4 separate regions of the Homo sapiens genome follow, and all the other regions are linked to region 3. Evidence: promoter capture Hi-C in human tissues and cell types (Jung and others, 2019). All regions are on one chromosome and are shown on one strand. Each heading gives the region's core, a stretch centred on a gene start or on the middle of the fragment in contact. The rest is flanking DNA. Distances are from core to core; before and after follow the strand shown. Region 1 overlaps HSDL2 (hydroxysteroid dehydrogenase like 2). Region 2 holds the start of KIAA1958. Region 3 holds the start of GNG10 (G protein subunit gamma 10). Region 4 has its middle 12 kb from the start of HSDL2.

What was found. Contacts are between HindIII fragments. The study calls those that stand out against the background at their distance.
Region 1: a contact is called between a fragment that was not itself captured here and the fragment with the promoter of GNG10 in region 3, in 1 of the 25 tissues and cell types used here (H1 embryonic stem cells).
Region 2: a contact is called between the fragment with the promoter of KIAA1958 here and the fragment with the promoter of GNG10 in region 3, in 1 of the 25 tissues and cell types used here (stomach).
Region 4: a contact is called between a fragment that was not itself captured here and the fragment with the promoter of GNG10 in region 3, in 1 of the 25 tissues and cell types used here (lymphoblastoid cells).

Annotation. Positions count from the first base shown.
Region 1 is chr9:112,413,565-112,417,115 of GRCh38, forward strand. HSDL2 (hydroxysteroid dehydrogenase like 2) reads left to right here. Exons shown (of 11, transcript NM_032303.5): 5 at 3,277-3,380. Among named protein-coding and RNA genes, the nearest start is that of HSDL2, 35 kb to the left of the region's middle. The HindIII fragment of the contact is 5,910 bases long and covers 1-3,551 here.
Region 2 is chr9:112,484,704-112,488,076 of GRCh38, forward strand. It overlaps KIAA1958, which reads left to right and starts at 2,124. Exons shown (of 4, transcript NM_133465.4): 1 at 2,124-2,415. It overlaps HSDL2-AS1 (HSDL2 antisense RNA 1), which reads right to left and starts at 2,941. Exons shown (of 5, transcript NR_171779.1): 1 at 2,276-2,941; 2 at 1,687-1,838. RefSeq lists an enhancer at 1,603-1,662 and silencers at 2,093-2,152, 2,233-2,722. The HindIII fragment of the contact is 14,239 bases long and covers 1-3,373 here.
Region 3 is chr9:111,659,836-111,663,041 of GRCh38, forward strand. GNG10 (G protein subunit gamma 10) reads left to right here and starts at 1,770. Exons shown (of 3, transcript NM_001017998.4): 1 at 1,770-1,880. The coding sequence starts at 1,800. All of the region lies in intron 1 of DNAJC25-GNG10 (DNAJC25-GNG10 readthrough), which reads left to right. RefSeq lists enhancers at 1,351-1,410, 2,481-2,580, 2,781-2,830 and silencers at 1,591-2,040, 2,071-2,190. The HindIII fragment of the contact is 18,619 bases long and covers 1-3,206 here.
Region 4 is chr9:112,366,294-112,369,654 of GRCh38, forward strand. It overlaps a transcript of PTBP3 not described here. Among named protein-coding and RNA genes, the nearest start is that of HSDL2, 12 kb to the right of the region's middle. The HindIII fragment of the contact is 8,217 bases long and covers 1-3,361 here.

The DNA.
Region 1 (3,551 bases), core at 610-3,109, 750 kb after region 3:
CATTTCTTTTTTAATTTGTATTTTTCAATTTAATTTATTATATACTCTCCAGTATTACATTGTTTGTATCATGTTAAATGCTTTTAGAAGCTTAGTAGTAAGGTTCAGTTGTATCTCTGAACAGTTGATTTTTCTTATTCCCAGCTGTTTGAAATGCTTGTTCCCTGGTGCCATAAAGAAATAGCACTTGAACATAAATTTAATTTACTCAGCAAGGCCGTTTTTATACTTTCTGCAGAAAGGGTATACTTGCCAGCAGTTTTGCCACAAGAGTACACCGATCAAAGCAGACAGGGTCATTTATAACCTGACGCGTCCACCCTACTGCTGTGTCCGGTTTCCATTGGCTGGAACGGGACCTGACGTTCTGTATTTGTCCCGGTTGGCTAGCAACTTAGAACTTTTTTTAAAAAGAGGCAAAGGCAGAGGAGAACAAAGGAAGGAGGAGGTAACTTGTGGAATGCTGAGAACGGTAAAAACACCTTCAAATAAGGAAGAGGAACAGGCTATGACCTAATGCTTGCTTGGACCAGTATATGCATGCCAGGGCAAATATTTAGGCTAAATTGTGGGAGCTAAGAACTTAAAGTACATTGATTTCTTTATCATGGCTAGCAGATATTTAAGAATGTTAGTACGGGTCTTTGAATACATTTTGCTTCTAAGAGAAGTTACTATTTATTCCTAATTAGACAGGGAGGAAAGTCTTTGAAGAGGAACCTCTAGTTTTTACACCAACTCACTTTATTCATTTACTCAAATGCCTTACAGGTCTTTGAGTTTGAAACCCCAAGTAAGTAAAATAATTCATGAAAGGTAATAAAAACAGAGTCTGGCACATAGTTAGGTTTTCAGTAAACGTAACTATTTTATTCGGCTGAAGGTATCAGTATCTAAGTGTGGTGCTAAGAGTTTTCAATATAATATATAAGAGGGCATGCTACTGTGACAGATGCACCTGATGTAGGATTAGCAATGTTGAGGTCCAGGCCAGCAAAGTGCAGATGGAAAGGTCTTGTCCCATAGATCAAAGGAAAGCCCATGTTTAGAATGTAAATGAAATGAGCTCTTTCCTTTGAGTGTAAAATATGGTCTTATTTACTGGAGTAGATTTAGTTTGTTTCTTCTTGATGCTTCGAGTTGCAGTTTCACTGTTTTAATGAAACTCAGCTGTAATATTGTTTGCCCCACCTCACCTCACCTCCATAAAAGTGAAGCACCTTTGGAAATGAAAACAGTATCTACCAAAACCCCTCTAGTGGTATTGATTATATTTGGTAAGCTTGGTAAGATGTTGCTGTTTTTAACACCAGTATTGTACATTTGGTAATTAAAAAACTGACTTGAAAGAAGAATGAACTAGTTCATTCACAGCTCCTGGTTCAGGGTAAAGAAAAAAAAAAGAATGGACAAGTTCAGAGTCCTAGAAGTCCTAGAAGTCATTGAATGTAAACGAAAGCTAAATTTGTAGCTAAAATAAAGCTATAAATTAAGCTATAATATATTATTTAGCTGCTGACATTATGTAAAAATTAACATTTTAGAAATATTGAATCTGAATCTTAAATAAATTACCTACCTTAATGAGTGACTTTTTAAAAATAAAGCTATGTATTGCACCCAAAGGCATATTTTATATTGGTGAAAATTAAATTTGGGAATGTAATGAGAGTTATATTACTAAATTACAGTTCCAATGTAGTAGAAGTACTATGCCTATTAAGATGAAATAAATCAGCATACATAATACTAACAACAGCGATTGTTTATTTCATGTTTAGTATATACATTGTCCTAAGTATCTCATATATATCATCTAATTTTAATCTCTTGGTCAATCATAGAAGGTAGTGACTTTTACCAACATTTGCAGAGGAGAGAACTGAGCATTAGAATGCTATACAATTTTCCCAGGGTCACACAATGAAGGGGCAGAAGCAGAATTTGAACCCTGGTCTGTCTGACTTGAACACTCATGTTATTTACCACTGTGCTGACCGACAAGTATATTAACTATCTCTGAAAATTACATATGTGTGTTAGGGAGGCAGAATTTGGGATGGTTGTGGTTGCGGATAACCTCAGTTGGGCTTAAGGCTAGTATATCAAGGATTTGTTTTTTTCCATCAAGCAGATCATGTTGCCAGGCCATTAAGCAGAATTTCAAAGGATGAAAATTAGTTGCTTTTTCTGTCTTAATTCTAGAAAGCAAACAAAAGTACCCTATGAACAAAACAAACAAACAGTTCCCTACAGATTTCTGAGCAAGTTCAGTTACTCTGTAGGAGTAGTTTAAAATGTATCTTGGCGGAGCGTGGGTGGATCACGAGGTCAGGAGTCGAGACCATCCTGGCTAACACGGTGAAACCCCGTCTCTACTAAAAATACAAAACATTAGCCGGACGTGGTGGCGGGCGCCTTGTAGTCCCAGCTACTCAGGAGACTGAAGCAGGAGAATGGCATGAACCCGGGAGGCGGAGCTTGCAGTGAGCGATTGTGCCACTTCACTCCAGCCTGGGCAACAGAGCCAGACTCCGTCTCAAAAAAAAAAAAAAAGTGGATTGGCCCGGCATGATGGCTCACACTTGTAATCCTAGTACTTTGGGAGGCTGAGGCGGGTAGATCGCTTGAGTCCAGGAGTTTGAGACACGCCTGCGCCACATAGCAAGACCCTGTTTCTAAAAAAAGAAAAAAAAAATTACAAAAACTATCCAGGTAGCTGGGCATGCTGGCACATGCCTGTAGTCCCAGCTACTCAGGAGGCTGAGGTGAGAGGACCACTTGAGCTGGGGAGGCAGAGGCTACAATGAGATGTGATCATGCCACTGCACTCCAGCCTGGCAACAGAGAGACCCTGTCTTAAAATTAAAAAAAAAAACAAACAAAAAAAAAGAAGTTGGCTGGTCGCAGTGGTTCACACCTGTAAACCTATAATCCTGGCACTTCGGGAGTCTGAGGTAGGAGGAGTGCTTGAGTCCAAGGGGTTCAAGACCAGCCTGGGCAACAAAGCTAGACCCTGTCTCTAAAAAAAAAAAAAAAAGTACAGAAATTAGCTGGGCATGGTGGTGCTGCACACCTGTAGTTCCAGCTACTCGGAAAACTGAGGTGGGAGGATTGCTTGAGCCCAGGAGCCCAGGAGCTCAAGGCTTTAGTGAACTGTGATCGAGTCATGCACTCCAGCCTGGGCAACAGAGCAAGGCCCCCTCTCTTAAAAAAAAAAGTGGAGAAATTGTTAGAAAGCTATTAAATTTGGCTTGTATTTTCTTTTGCTTTCAGATCTAAAGCATGTATTCCTTATTTGAAAAAGAGCAAAGTTGCTCATATCCTCAATATCAGTCCACCACTGAACCTAAATCCAGTTTGGTTCAAACAGCACTGTGGTAGGTGGTAGGTGGTAGGGTGAGGGGATGGTTTGTGCTTAATTTGTTTTGAATTAAATCTGTGTATGTCTGATGTAATCACAATCTGCACATAACATTCATCATTGAATTTTCTATGCCAAGTCATTAAGTGGCATTTGGAAAGTAGATTCTTCATCTTTTATCTGTAAT
Region 2 (3,373 bases), core at 874-3,373, 830 kb after region 3:
CAAAAACAATTTAAAATTTACCTTTGTAACTACTTTTAAGTGTACAGTTCGGTGGTGTTATATTTACATTATTGTGTAACATCTCTAGAAATTTTTCATCTTGCAAAATTGAAACTCTGTACCCAGTAAACATTATATCACCATTTTCCCCTCCCTCTACCCTCTAGCAACCACTATTCTACCGTCTTGTTTCCACAAGTTTGACATAATCCCACAGTTTACATACCTCTACATAGTTCATATAGGTCAAATCATAACAGTATTTGTCCTTTTGTGACTGGTTTATTGCACTTGGCACAACATCCTCAAGGTTCATCTATGTTGTAGCCTGTGATAAGATTTCCTTCCTTTTTAAGGCTGAATAATATTCCATTATATGTATATATCACATTTTCATTCATCTCTTCATCTGTTGATGAACATTTGGGCTGCTTCAACCTCTTGGCTATTGTGAATAGTGCTGCAATGAACATGAATGTGCAAATATCTCTTCGATATCCTGCTTTCAATTCTTTTGGATATTTACCCAGAAGTGGGATTGCTGGATCATATGGTAGCTCTAGTTTTAGTTTTTTGAGGAACTTCCCCACTGTTTTGCATAGTGGTGGTACCATCTACATTCCTATCAGCATTGCATAAGAGTTCCAATTTCTCCACAAGATCCCATCTTTAGAATATGCAGCAATTAACTAGGGGGTTTTCATTTTTGGTCTTTTTTGTTTGTACAAACATTATTGTGTCAACATTTACACAGATTTTAAATTTCAGCCTAGACCTGGAAGAGTGTTGATAGAGGAAGGTGTTAAGAACATCAACCGGAATCAGCTCTAGAGATGGAGAGGGGTTGGCAGAAGCTACCTAAAAGAGAACATGCTTGATGTGGTAATGAAGTTACCTGCTTGGATTCTGGACGACCCTGGATATTTTCTCCTTTGCTAAGAAGTTAGCTTCTTTCTCTCCCTCAAAAATATTCTTCTCTTCCCTTACCTACTCCAAGGGTACAAGTGACTGGGGTATGCCTGTCACAGATGAGGTGAGGCCAAGATGTGGGCACTACGTAAGGCCTGACAGATATGGTGTAAATGTTATTTATTACCATGATTACTGTTTTGGAGATGGTCAGTGCTGTAAATAGAAAGGGAGTTAAGAGCAGACTCTGAAGCCAGACTGTCCGGAATGAATCCAGGCTCCTCTAGCTACTATCTATGTGATGTTGAAAAAATTTCTTAATTTCTCTGTGCCTCAGTTTCCTTATCATAAAATGGCAATGTTAATAGCACCCACTATGTAGAGTTCTTAGGATTAAATAAATTAATATTCGCTAAGTACTCAGTGCAAACTGTGGGCACACAGCAAGTACTACGAAAGTGTTAGGTAAAATAAAGGTGGACCAAGCCTGGTAGCACCTAGCAAGTCCAGCTTCATCTTTGCTGTGCTGAGTCGTGTAGGTGGTGTTCTTGTGTCTCTGGTTTGCTGGAGGACCTAGTTTTAGTGTATTTTAGGTATCATTAAGCATCCCCGCTCCCTCGATGGGATAGGGGTGTGTGTGTTACAGGTGGTTGTTGGGCACCTTCACGGGGCAGCGGTGACTATGGGCTGTACGTAGTATCTCGGTAGAAAGTGTTAATGCACATCCCTGGGCGGAGAGGTAACTCTACTCAATGCGTTATAAGGGAAATCACACACCTCACGGATGGTGTAGGTTCTGTCTGCTCCTTGCGTTTCAGTGGAGGTGCACAGAGCTCCGGGGGGCATCGGGGACCGCGGGCCCAGGACGTGTAGTAGGGAGCAGTGCTGTACACTTCCTCGGACCATAGCGGGGACGGCGGGTTCCACACCTGTCGGGGCAGTAGGGACTGAGCTCGTGCGCGCGGAGGATGGATTGCTCCAACCTCTCGGTCCAGCGCGCCGGCCGCCGCGTGCGAACGTGTGTGCGGCAGGAGGCTCGATCTACACCTCCTCGGGGCAGCAACGACTGCGAGCTCGGTGCGTGCCGTAGGAGGTGTCGTTACACACTTCCTGTGGGTCTCGCCGACCACGGCGCGTTTCCGGTGCCGGCTGGAGCCCGGGGTCCGAGCCCCCGCCCCGCTCGCCGGCCCCGCCCCGGCCCGCCCGCGCCCCGCCCCCTGCCCGCCCGCCGCGCTCCGAGCCGGGCGCGCGGAGCTCGGGGCGCACGGAGCGGCGCGCGGCGGTCGGCCGAGCCAGGCTGGCGCCCCCGCCCCCCGCCCCGCTCCTCGGTCCGCCGCCCGCCGGGCGCCTTCCCCGCTCCACTTACCTTTGGTGCCCGGCCCTCTGGCCGCTCTCCTCCCGCCCTCGCGCCCCTTCGGCCCGTCCCGTCCAGCCCGGGCTGCCCGGCTCTCGCAGGCCCCCCCGCGCCGACCGCGTTCCTATGGACAGACGCACAGACACCTGCAGGTGGGTGAGAGCCCGCGCGCGGGGCGGGGACGAGTGCGCCGACGCCGCGACCCAGGCGGGGAGCCCCTTTGTGTGGGGGGCGGCCGCGCCGGGGTCGACTCTGCTTCCCCGTCAGCGGCCGCGCGGTGACCCGGCTGAACCTTCCTTTTGTCTCCTCTCGGGGGAGCGAGGCCGGAGCGAGGGCAGGGACCCGGGCGGCCGCTCGTCGGCAGCGCCGGGCTTGGGGGTGCGAGGCGCAGAGACCCCCGGTGGCGGCTCCGGTCCGCCTGCCCCGGGCCGCCCCGCCGCCCGGCAGCTCGGGTCTCAGCGGCGGCTGCAGGCGCAGTGCGTGGGGCTGGCGCCCCCGCTCCTGCTCTTGGGTCTGTCGGAGGTGGGAAGGAGGGCGGGAAGGAGGAGGAAAAGGTCTGTCCTCTTAGTTTCCAAGTCTTGAGATGCTTATGGAGAAAGAGAGGTGGTTCAGGGCTCTGCCCCACTAGTTTTCCTCCTCGGGTGGCTCGCCGAGGTGCGTTTGGGGCGTGTGTGAAGGAACGTGCATGGCTTCGCTCCCTTATTTATTGTTTCTAACGGAGGAGGGCTTTCTCCAAAAGGCTCTTCCGCCCCCCCACCCCCATCTGAGGCTGCGCACAGTGATTTGTGTTTGTTATCAAATATATCGAGAAATGTATTCCCCTGGGTAGGAGGAGGTTGGACTGAACAACGTCAAACCAAAATCAAAGAATGTTTTTGGTTCCTTCAAGTCTTTTTTTTTCTTTAAGGTTTTAGATTGGGACTTTAAAAAAAATGAACGTGGCTGTGATTTTTACAATTATATGTATTTAGTGTGTGTGCGTGTGTGTGTGTGTGTGTGTGTGTGTGTTTTGAAGTTTAGGAGTAAAGTTTTGTTTTTTCCCGAACTCGTTAGGATTCGCAAGACGGAATCCTCTCCCGACGAAATAAACAGCTAACAAGCCAGTCAGGT
Region 3 (3,206 bases), core at 520-3,019:
TATTTTTAAATTTATTCACTCTACATGTGTGCATCGCCTCCAGCTGTCCTCCATACTGGACTGTTCTTCCTTCTGAGCCATCTGCAAGACACGTATCTCCAAAGTCCAGCTCTCACGATCTATGATGAGCCTTTCCTAATCCAGTATGTATATCTTTGCACTGAGTTCTTTGCCATATCTTTTAAATATGAAATCATTCTATTTTGTCCTATTCATCAGTCTCAGAATTGATTGTTGAATGTTCCCAACATGTACTTTCATCTCTTTACTAAGATATATATTAATTTCTTTGTGGTGAGGAAATTGGCCACTAGAGAGGGCTTTCAAATGTGCAAGTCTCCCTTTGGCCCAGGCACAGCTAATCTGAGCACGTCAATGCCACACATCCTTGCCTTCAAAGAGTAATTGGGCCAGGGGTGGGCCCATGACTTAATACCAGCCAGTGAGGTTCATTATGGGGATTTTTGCTGGAACGATTAGAAAGAAAAGAGGTACTATTTTTCCTGGGTTTGCTAGATGGGGACAGTGAAAGTGTGGTGCCTTCCTTCATACCACTAGAGAAGTCCATCTACCACCAAGGAAAATGAGGCTAATCTCAGGAAAAGCAGAATCAAAACAAGGAGGATGAGAGCCCCAAAATTATTATTTGGGTAATTGAATTCACTAGTTTAAAGTCCCTGGACTTTTCAGTTACACAAGCCAATATATTACCTTTTGCAATATTCAGTTTAAGTGAGTTCTGACAAATACAATGGTGTACAAGAATAATGACGTATTAATGATACATGGAAAAAAGCAACACAAAAATTTTAAATATAGTAACGATCCCAGTTTTGTAAAACACTTATTAAAAAATGCAGTAGGCCTATAATGCCAGCACTTTGGGAGGCTGAGGTGGGAGGATCACCTGAGCCCAGGAGTTCAACACCAGCCTGGCCAACATCGTGAAACCCCGTCTCTACTAAAAATACAAAAATTAGCCGGGCGTGGTGGTGTGTGTCTGTAGTCCCAGCTACTCAGGAGGCTGAGGCAGGAGGATCACCTGAGCCCACGAGGTGGAGGCTACAAGGAGCTGTGATCACGCCACTGCACTCCACCCCGGGTGACAGAGCAAGACCCTGTCTCAAAAAAAAAAAAAAAAAAAAAAAAAGCAGCAGAATAGAAACAATGATGACAGTTAAATGGTGAGATGAGAGTGAGAAACGCTGAATTTAATTTTATTCTGTATGTTTCACAAAGATGTCAGGGTCTGGGATTTTATCCAATTTACCATACTCCACCAAATCAACTGGTAGGATCTCCGTGAAACAGTAACAGGGTCATTTAGAAACCTGTTGCTGCCTCATGAAAATCCTATGAACTCTCCTTGGTTCCCCGGTGATACTGTCTGGCAAGGCCCCTTATCTCTCCAACTCATGTCACACCTTGGCTCCAGTTCTCATTTCTCAGGGGTGCGTGTTTGCTGCCGCCCACTCCATCCTCGCGTCCCACGCCCTCGCGATTCCTGCTCATCCTAGGGGCGCCAGCTTCGCTGGAGGACGCCGCGCTCTGCGGGTCCCCGCCTCGGTTCCAGGCCCAGCTGCAGGTGCCACCCAGGTTTCAGGCGCTGAGGAGCGGAGAGCACTGCCAGCTCGCTGGGGTCCCCGCTGTCTCTGGCAAGCGGCTCCGCGCCGGGTGGGCTGGGGCGGCGGGGCGGGCGCAGCTGCTTCCCCGCCCCGGGGCGGCACCCGCGCTCGGGGCTGGCGGCTCCTCCCCGCCCGGCCGGGCCCAGCAGCCCCTAGGAGCCCAGCGCCGCCGCCATGTCCTCCGGGGCTAGCGCGAGCGCCCTGCAGCGCTTGGTAGAGCAGCTCAAGTTGGAGGCTGGCGTGGAGAGGATCAAGGTGCGGGCCCCGGGTACCCACGCTCCGGTCCTTCCGCCCGCGGGGCGTGAGAAGAGGAGGCCGGCGGCCCGGACCGGGCGCCAGCGGGGGACTCGGTGGCGGCGGCGAGGCCTCGGCGGGGCGCGGGGGCGGTGGGGTCCGCGGTGAGGGAGGGCGCGGGGCAAGCCGGGGGCCCGGGCCTGACGGGAGGAAGCCGCGCCTGGGGGGCCCCGCGGTCGTGGTCGGTCCCGGTCCCTGGGGGTGCGCCCACTCCAGAAGGCGGCCGTGGTCAGTTCCTCGGAGGGCGCAAGGGATGCCGGCGACGCGCGGGCCGGGAGGGTGGACCCAGGGCTGGGGAGGCCACCGCAGGGCGGCGAATTGGTGATGGATTGGTAGGATGAGAGCGAGAGGGAGGAGAGCCAGGATGCTCGGGTTTCTGTCGTCGTGACAGGGTGGACGGCGCTGCCACCCGCCGAGGTAGAGAGGAGGGGGAACAGGTTTGGGGAAATGATGAGTTCGGCTGCGGACCTGGGGACTCCGGGGAGTCATCCGGGAGGTATTTGTCCTCATGGCCTGAAGCTCAGCGCCCAGGGCTGAAAGAGGTCATTCAAGTGCATTGGGGCGAAAAAGCCTCTTCTATGAAGAGCAGAGCTCAGAGCCTGGGACCCGGGGACCAGCCACACCGATGGCCGGTGGCCGAGAGAAGAGGAAATAAGAGACAGCAAGGTTTCCGAGCAAGGCCTAGAGAAGAGGAAATAAGAGACAGCAAGGTTTCCGAGCAAGGAAGTAGGGATTTCCAAAAACTGGGGGCTCAGTCAACATGTCCAGCGTTTAGTCAGTTGGCTAAAAGGCGTCTGTTGTAGAGCTGTGTTTAGCTACGAGTGCAGCATTATTTGCAGAAGATCTGTAAGAAGGAACACAACCAGGATAGTCCCTGTGCCTCAGTTTCTCCTTTGCTGTGTGCCTGGCACTGCTACAGGGAATAGGGTGGTTCTGGAGGGGAAGGTAAACAGCAACTTAACGGATACATAGCATCGCTTCATGTACTAAGTGGAGTGAAGATAATAAACAGGGTAAAGGGAGAGAGGGCTGTGGAATGCAGAGGTCTGGTGGCTTATGTGTTAGTAAAAGCAGAATCTGGACTGTCATAGGGTAGGCAGACGTTTTTTCTTTTTAAAGAAACCTAGTTTTAAAGAGGAAATAACGTGTTTTTTTAACTTAGGAAATGAAAAGCCATGTTTTAGGGTTGAGAGGAAGTAACAAATTATATTTTTAGGTTCCAGGGAAGAAACAAATGGAAGCCAATTGCTGGTAGAGGAGACAGGGCTACGGGGGGGTGGGGGATTG
Region 4 (3,361 bases), core at 327-2,826, 710 kb after region 3:
TTGCATAAGTAATGAGGAGCTGAATGGTAATTCCCAAGAGAATGGGGGAAATGTTGCCAGGGCATGTCAGAGGTCTTCATGGCAGCCCCTCCCATCACAGGAGGAAAAAATGGTTTCATGAACTGGGTCCAGTGTTCCCAAGCTGTGTGCAGCCTAGGGACTTGGCACCCTGCTTTCCAGCCACTCCAGCCATGGATGAAAGGGGCCAATATAGAGCTTGGGCCATGGCTTCCGAGGGTTCAAACCCCAATCCTCGGAAGCTTCCACGTGGTGGTGAGCCTGCAAGTTCACAGAAGATTTGGGGTTTCTGAACCTCCACCTAGATTTCCAAAGATGCGTAGAAATGCTTGGATGCCCAGGCAGAAGTTTGCTGCAGGGGTGGGCCCTCATGGAGAACCGCTGCTAGGGTAGTGCAGAAGGGAAAGGTAGAATCAGAGCCTCCACACAGTCCTTAGTGGGGCACCACCTAGTGGAGCTGTGAGAAGAGGGCTACCGTCTTCCAGGCCCCAGAATGATAGATCCACTGACAGCTTTCACCATTCACCTGGAAAAGCTGCAGACACTCAATCCTAGCCTGTGAAAGCAGCCAGGAGGGGGGCTATACCCTGTAAAGCCACAGGGGTGGAGCTGCCCAGGACTGTGGGAACTCACTTCTTGCATCAGCATGGCCTGGATGTGAGACATGGAGTCAAAGGTGATCATTTTGGAGCTTTAAGATTTGACTGCCCTGCTTTCTTTGTGGTTACCATGAGCCTAACATAAAATATCTTATCACAGTCTATTTTAAGTTGACACTAGCTTAACTTTCATCACAAGAACTTTGCATTTTAACTTTTCTTCCCACATTTTATGTTATTGATGTTACAATTTGTATGTTGTCTATCCATGACCAAATTATTATAGCTATATTTTAATACATAAAAAAACTTTAGACTACAGTTAAAAGTGATTTATGTACCCCCATTACTATATTAGAGTATTCTGAATTTGACTATTTTTACCCTTACAGTGAATGTTATACTTGCATGTTTTCATTTTGTTAGCTATTATTCTTTTGTTTCAACACAAAGAACTCCCTTTAGCATTTCTTGTAAAGCAGATGTAGTGGTGATGAACTCCCACAGGTTTTTTTGTTTGTGTTTTGGGTTTTTTTGTTTTGTTTTGTTTTTTGGCTAGGTTCTTATCTCCTTTATTTCTGAAGGACAGCATTACTGACCTTCAGAACAGTATAGTATTGTTAGTTGGCAGGTATAGTATTCTTAGTCAGGTATAGTATTGTTAGTTGCCAAGTTTTTTCATCTTTCAACATTTTGAATATATTCCCATGGTTTCCTGGCCTGCAAGGTTTCTACTGAGAAATGCAATGATAATCTTATGATGGTTCCCTTGTATGTAATGAGTTCCTTTTCTCTTGCTGCTTTCAAAATTCTTTCTATCTTTGACTTTGATGATTTGATTATAATGGGCCTCAGTGAAGATCTCTTTATATTTAATCTATTTGGGATTCTTTGGGTTTCATGGATTTGGATGTTCATTTCCCTTCCCAATTTGGGGAGTTTTCTGTCATTGTTTCTTTAAATAAGTTTTCTGCCCCCTTCTCTTTCACTGTTCCTTCTGGAACTCCCATAATGTATATATTAGTTTGTTTGATGATATCCCATGATTCCTGTAGGCTTTCTTCAGTTTTTTTTTCTTTTTGTTCTTTTCATTGTTGTTGTTGAGACGAAGTCTCACTCTGTCACCCAGGCTGGAGTGCAGTGGCACAATCTTGGTTCACTGCAAACTCTGCCTCCTGGATTCAAGCAATCCTCCCACCTCAGCCTCTCTAGTAGCTGGGACTACAGGCATGCACCACCATGCCTGGCTAATTTTTGTATTTGTATTTTTTATTTTTTGAGACAGAGCGTCATTCTGTTGCCCAGGCTGGAGTACAATGGTGCAACCTCGGCTCACTGCAACCTTTGTCTCCCAGGTTTAAGCGATTCTTGTGCCTCGGCCTCCTGAGTAGCTGGGATTACAGGCGTGCGCCACCACACCCAGCTAATTTTTGTATTTTTAGTAGAGACAGGGTTTCGCCATGTTGGCCAGGTTGGTCTCGAACTCCTGACCTCAAGTTATCCACCCACCTTGGCCTCCCAAAGTGCTGGGATTACAGGTGTGAGCCACCGTGCCCAGCCCAGGTACCTTATCTTCAGGGAGCACACTGTGAAAGGAATTCTTTATCAAATCTTGGCTTTTTTTTTTTAAGGTGATAAATGATTCCCTCACAATATTACAATATAACTCCCTTGAGAAAAGTTGGATTGGTTATTTTCATTCCCATACACATGGGCCTTCCCATTATAATTTCATAAGGGGACAATTGATGTTTTCCCAAAGGGATGGATTGGAGTGTATGCAGCACTAGTGGGAGTGCTTTGGGCCAGGGGAGATGAAATACCTCTGTGAACTTAGCCAATTTGCATAAGTAACGAGGAGCCAAATGTCAATTATCAAGACAACGGGGGAAAATGTCTCCAGGGCATGTCAGAGGTCTTCACGGCAGTCCCTCCCATCACAAGCTGGGAGACCTAGGAGAAAGAAATGGTTTCATGGGCCAGGGCCAGGGCCTTGCTGCTTGGTGCCCTGTGCCCCAGCCATGGCTAAAAGGGGCCAATGTACAGCTCAGGCCATTGCTTCAGAGGGTCCAATCCCCAAGCCTTGATGGCTTACACGAGGTCTTGTGCCTGCAGATGCAAAGAGGTGAGGAATTAAGGATTGGGAACCTCCACCTAGATTTCACAGGATGTATAGAAACACCTGGATGTCCAAGCAGAGGTGTGCTGCAGGGGCAGAGCCCTCATGGAGAACCTCTGCTAGGGCAGTGTGGAAGGGAAATTTGGGGTGGAAACCCCTACACAGAGTCCCCACTGGGATACTGCTTAGTGGAGCTGTGAGAAGAGGGCCACCATCCTCCAGGTCCTAGAATGACAGACCCACTGACAGCTTGCACCATGTACCTGGAAAAGTCACAGACACTCAACATCAGCCTGTGAAAGCAGCTGGGAGGGCGTCTGTACCCTGCAAAGCCATGGAGGTGGAGCTGCCCAAGACCATGAGAACTCACCACTTGCATCACTGTGACCTGGATGTGAGACACGGAGTCAAAGGAGATTATTTTGCAGCTTTAAGATTTGACTATCCCTCTGGATTTTGGACTTGCATGGGGCCTTTAGCTCCTTGATTTTGACCAATTTCTCCCATTTGGAATGGGTGTATTTACTGAATGCCTGTACTCACATTGTATCTAGGAAGTAACTAACTTGCTTTTGATTTTACAGGTTCATAGGTGGAAGAGGCTTGCCTTGTCTCAGATGAGACT